2 separate regions of the Homo sapiens genome follow, and region 2 is linked to region 1. The links are contacts of gene promoters, found by promoter capture Hi-C in human tissues and cell types (Jung and others, 2019). All regions are on one chromosome and are shown on one strand. The core of a region is centred on a gene start or on the middle of the fragment in contact, and the rest is flanking DNA. Distances in the headings are between cores, read along the strand shown.

The links. Contacts are between HindIII fragments. The study calls those that stand out against the background at their distance.
Region 2: a contact is called between a fragment that was not itself captured here and the fragment with the promoter of ZNF12 in region 1, in 1 of the 25 tissues and cell types used here (dorsolateral prefrontal cortex).

What each region holds. Positions count from the first base shown.
Region 1 is chr7:6,705,572-6,708,413 of GRCh38, forward strand. It overlaps ZNF12 (zinc finger protein 12), which reads right to left and starts at 1,376. Exons shown (of 5, transcript NM_016265.4): 1 at 861-1,376. RefSeq lists a silencer at 992-1,351 and an enhancer at 1,045-1,544. The HindIII fragment of the contact is 19,528 bases long and covers 1-2,842 here.
Region 2 is chr7:7,187,743-7,190,584 of GRCh38, forward strand. All of the region lies in intron 1 of C1GALT1 (core 1 synthase, glycoprotein-N-acetylgalactosamine 3-beta-galactosyltransferase 1), which reads left to right. Among named protein-coding and RNA genes, the nearest start is that of C1GALT1, 6.6 kb to the left of the region's middle. The HindIII fragment of the contact is 8,882 bases long and covers 1-2,842 here.

The sequences.
Region 1 (2,842 bases), core at 126-2,625:
AGCTGGGCGTGGTGGCGGGCGCCTGTAACCCCAGCTACTCGGGAGGCTGAGGCAGGAGAATCGCTTGAACCCGGGAGGCGGAGGTTGCAGTGAGCTGGGATGGCACCATTGCACTCCAGCCTGGGCAACAAAGCGAAACTTGTCTCAAAAACAAACAAACAAACAAACAAAAAACAAACAACAAAAAATGAATTCTGTAATACTCATCTATTTTCTTACTCTTTTAAATAAAGATCAGAAAATCCACAGGATGCCCTAAATAAAGGAATACAGTCGGCATAATTGAGTCTTTATTTGCAGAAACTTCAGTGTGCTACTCAAAAGGATCTTTTATTGAAGAACTTACGCTCACTTAACTAGGATACGGGGGACAGAACACTGGCCTGGGAGATAAAACTCCAGAGTTCTACTATGAGCAACTCCACCCACAAAACCTCGGACAAGTCACCCACCTGCTAAGGCCCTTCCCCTAGCAAATGAGGCAGCAAGAGATAGTTCCTGCAGGCTGTTCCTGCACTACAACGTATGATTCCACAAGAGCAGACCTAAGGGGGAATCAGCACTTAAATGAGAGAACAGAGGTGCTGACGGACGTTTAGATACGGTAGCAATCTGGAGCAGAGAGAGGAGGAAGGGCTGCTGGGGTGAGGGGGGAGTGGAGACAACGTCCGCAGCTGAGGCTGGTGACACCCCCCACGCCCCCGTAAGCCTCGTCCTCGCCGGACCCTGCCTTCAAACCCAAACACACGTCACTCCTGCAAGCGATCGAGACCTTCCACTGTCCCTCACTCTAAGGTGCCCTACACGCGGTGACTTCACCCAGGCCCTTCTCGCCCCGGGCCCGCAAACCCACGACTTACCCTCCTGGGGCTCCGCAGCCTCTGCCCCACCGCTCCCGACAGGCCGGGGCGGGATTGCTGTCGCGGGCGCGCGTCTGCTCGCGAGGTCCCTTCCTGTCCACCTCACCAAGGCCGTTCTGCTCCAGAGGGGCCCGGGCCGGGCCTACGGGACAAATCCAGGCGGGGCGTCCCTCCCGGAGCCCAGATCCGTCTCCCTGGGGCTCACCGTCCTGCGGAGCCGGGGCCGGGCCGTCGAGGACGCACACGGGCCGGGCCCGGGTCCCGCCGCCCCTTCGCCTCCGCCGTCGTCACCGCCCGGCCGGCCCCTTGGGCCCCAGCGCCGTCGGCTCCGGGGGTCGTGCTCGGGGATCCCCGCTTGAGCCTCCGCCTGGCCCGCACAGCCCCGCGCCCGCTTGGGTGCCGGCCCGGCTCTTCGGCGCCCAGCCCCGCAGGCTCCGCGATTCTCGCCCACCGGAGGCCAAAGCCTGGGAACTAGGGCGAGCGGTGACCTGGGGACGCACAGGAAGCGAGGGCACTGCGGCCGCGGCGCGCATGCGCGAACACGCACACAGAGAGGGGTGCACATGCGCAGGAATGCACCGGAAGTCCGCCTCCCGGGACCCGCCGCCGGTCCCAGGACAAATACCGTGACTCTATTTCCCATGAGCCTACGCGCTCCCCAAATTTAGGAGCCATTTGAAATGTCTCTATCTGGTCTAGCGGTTAAGAGGCTCTATGCTAAGAGAATTGGCAACGCCGAACCCCAGACTCAAATTTCTCCTTAGTTTAAGGGAACGTCTTCATGGGGATGTCTTGACTATCTTTAAGGGAACGTCTAGAAAGTCTCTGCTTCCTGTAGCATCTCGTAGACCATGCCTGGGCCAGTCCTGCCTTACCGGAGAGCTCAAGGCTTAAAATCAATGTCCATGTGCAACCGTGACAAATGGAACAAGAGGGTGCATCATGCTAGCTTATGATCACAATGACACATTTAACGAAAACTTCAGTAAATAGAGCCCATGGATGAAATAATAGAGGATTAGCCTGGGACAGGATACCATCCTCGCCCCAACAAGGAGAAAAAGAATTCCAGCTTTTCCAAATCACTTTGAATTAGTGATAGCTAGAAAACTCAGAGAATATGTACAGAATTGAAAGAAGAAAAAAATTAGCCAGAACTCTACTTCCTGAAGAGGATGAGGCAAGCAGAAGAAGAAATTTGCGTCTTAATGGAAAACGAAGCACATTTAGAAAGCCATGTTACTTGATTCCAACCCTGTTCCTTATCTTTGAGGTATTTTACACCTCTTTGAAAACTGTAGGTAATCGATGCAAGTTATGTTCTGTCTGGTGGAAGTTGGTTGACTTCCCACAATCCCCACTAGAGAAAATGCAGTTTTGACTGCATTTCTCCATTTACATAATCATTTCAATATTCCTGATCTGAAAATATGTCTGTTTCTCAGATTCTCTCTCTCTCTCTCTTTTTTTTTTTAATTTTGAGACAGGGTCTCACTCTGCTGTGCATGCTGGAGTTCAGTGGCGAGATCTTGGCTCACTGGTTCAAGGAATTCTCCTGCCTCAGCCTCCCAAGTAACTGGGATTACAGGTGCACACCACCAAGCCCGACTAATTTTTGAATTTTTAGTAGAGATGGGGGTTTCACCATGTTGGCCAGGCTGGTCTTAAACTCCTGACCTCAAGTGATCCACCCGCCTCAGCCTCCCAAAGTGCTGGGATTACAGGCATGAGCCACCATGTCCAGCCCTCAGATTCTCTTTTGAACCAGTTATAATATCTGCCTGTTTCCTCTTGAATTAAATAAAATCTTTAGCATGTGCTCATTTTTATATCTGTATCAGAGTCATGATTTTACTTTTATGTTTTAAGGTTTTCCAGGTCTTTGCAGAAGTCCCTGATGGAATCACATGACTGAGCCAGGAAAACCTCAGGACTGGAGTGCCTCATGAACTGTTGAAGCCCAGGTGAATCTTTTCTTGGCT
Region 2 (2,842 bases), core at 196-2,695, 480 kb after region 1:
AAGACAGTAGGAAGAGGAGCTGACCATATTGGGAACCTTTCAGTAACTGTAGACAGTTCAGGATTGCTGAAGCAGACATAAATTATAAGGCACAGAATAGCAAAAGACGAGGCTGGAAACCTGGACAGGCTCTAGGTCATAGCCTTTATTTATATATCATGTTAATAAAAAATGTTTAGTTTTTGTCTTGTAGGCAGTGGAGTTCCGTGAAAGGATTCATGGGGTGACATGGTCAGCTTTTCATTTTAGAGAGCTCATTCTGGTGACGGGGTATGAGTTAAAGAGGGATAGCACTTGAGTCAGAGAGGTTAGATATTGTAATAGCCTGTGGGGAGAGAGGAGAGTCTGAAATAGGATAAATACTAGAAATGGAGAGGAGACAATGGATTAGAATAATATTTAGGAAGTAATGTTGGCAAGACTTGGTAATTGGATTTGGGGTGAAGATAAGGGAAGCATTAAGAATATCTGTGTACTTTGTAGTTTAGATAATCCTGTGGCTCTGAGTGAAATAGGAACCCATTGGTGAATAATTTAGGTAATTACCAGTAATTAAGGTAAAATGAGCAGAGGAAAGTAATGAGTCACTTTGGAGGTGTTGAATTAGAGATGCCTATGGTCCAGGTGGAAGTATTTAGCAGGCATTTGTGTATGTGAATCTGAAACTTGGAGAAGTCTGAAAGGATCAAGAGATCATTTTGTTTGACAAGTGTGGAGAAATTAGTGGACTTTAATTTTTATCATATTATTTCACTCTGTAGATAAAAATTGCCTCCCTTTATTTAATTTTTATCAGAAAAGTAATGTGTGTACCCGATGCAAAATTAAAACATCAAAAGGTTATAAAATAAAAAAAAATTTGTCCTTCCTTGCTCATGCCACCCAGTGCTAGTTCCCAGAGATAGCTCTTGTTAAATATCATATGTATATATATCTTAACAGATTTTAAAATATATACAGAAACATTTAAAAAGCCAAGTGAAATCATACTAGAAAATATTTCGGTACATTGTCTTAAAAAATAAACCTTTTATCTTATACAGTTGTTAAAATGAATGACATTGTGTTATGGATAAAATAAGTGAAGGGGTAAATTAAAGTGCAGACTAACCGATAAGCATGATCTCTGATGTAAATTAAAAGCTGAACATACATATGTGATGATATAGGCATTACCCAACGATACGAAAGCAGTTACTTTTGGGGAGAGATAGTGGTAGAGATGGTAAAGAAAATTTACTCTTTTCTGTCTATGATTTTCTTTCATTTGTTTAGGTTTGTTCCTTTTGTTTTCTTTACATTTTCTGATGTTTAAAAAAATACCCAGTATACCTTATTAACAATAAAAAGTAACCTTTGTCAAAAGCACAAAGATTTTCCCTATCAGCACATGTAGATCATTGTTTTTAACAGCTACTACTATTCTATGCTATGGCTCTATCTTTTTTTTAAAAAACTGGTTCCTCATCAACAGACAGACGTCTTATGGTTATGGCTGTCGAGCATCTTGGCTGACTTCTATGATTATATCTGTAAAATAAGTTTCTGATCATGAAGTGATATATCAAGGCATAATTAGTTAAAAATTTAAAAAGATGTTGTGAAATGCCCTTCCAAAAGACAGTAAAAGTATGTATTATGAGAAAGAATACAGGACTACCAGTTTTCTTGTATCTGTGTCAATAACAGCTGTTAATAAACTTTAAAAGTTTTGCCAATATGTTAGGTTAAAAATAATATCTCTTCATTTGATTTACCTTTGTGAGTGAAATTTGAACATCGTTGACCATTTTTTACTGTGAATCTTTTATTTTCTTTATCTGTTTTTGTATTTGGTTAACTATCTTTTTTATTATTTATGATACTTTTTGGTTCTTTTTGCTGTACATTAAAAAAATATATTTCATAAAGAAATATGCCCTTTAACCAGCGACTTCATTGCCAGAAGTTTATCCAATGAATAAACTCATAGTGTTTTAATAGTCACAGCTTCTGAGTGTGGGAGAGATCTCAATTCGTAATATCAAAATGCAAAAATATATTTTCTTCCAGTTTTGTTTTAATTCCATTTTCTAAAATACTGAAATCTTAGAAACATTTGAAATTGTTACTAGAAAGTAAGGATCCAGCTGGTTTTGTTTTTTTTTCCCCAAAAGATTAATTAATTCAATACCATTTCTTCAATAAGCCACCTTTTTCTTGATTTGAAATGCTGTTTATTATGTATTAAATTTCCACATGAATTTTTGTTTTCCATAGAGTCTTTATTTCAACCTGATGAAGTCCCTTTATAAGATTCATCTGGTAGAGACCACCAGGGACACATCTGTAGGCTGACAAAGGTTAATTAGCTTGCTGCAGTGAAGGAGACTTGCACAGCAGAGGAAATGTCAGCATTTCTAAAGAAGGAACCAGGGTTATTATAGGATTTTGGAGAATGGTGGAGTTTGGATAAAGTTTAAACGCAACAATATTTGATAAGCTTAAAGCACGGCAAGACTGTGTGTCAAGGGTTAATAAACATCAGGCCTGGGCTGAGAAGCTGACTCAGGATTCTGATTCCCTGGAGACTACAAAATCGCGATACATGTGGAATGTTGTGTCTGGAAACCCCTTATCTGAAGCTCTGAGTTGCAAAGTGAGGTTGCTTCTGTTTCATAATGATCTACCATCAGTGCGAGAGTGGGATGTTCCATTCTCACTTTATAAAATTTCAAATAACATAGTTTCTGACAGTCTGATGTAGAGAACAGTTTCTCAGCACATTGTCTTTAGTATTAACAAATGCATTTTTTTAAACAGACTGAGAGTTTGTTCAGCATAAATACCAAATTGTTTTCAT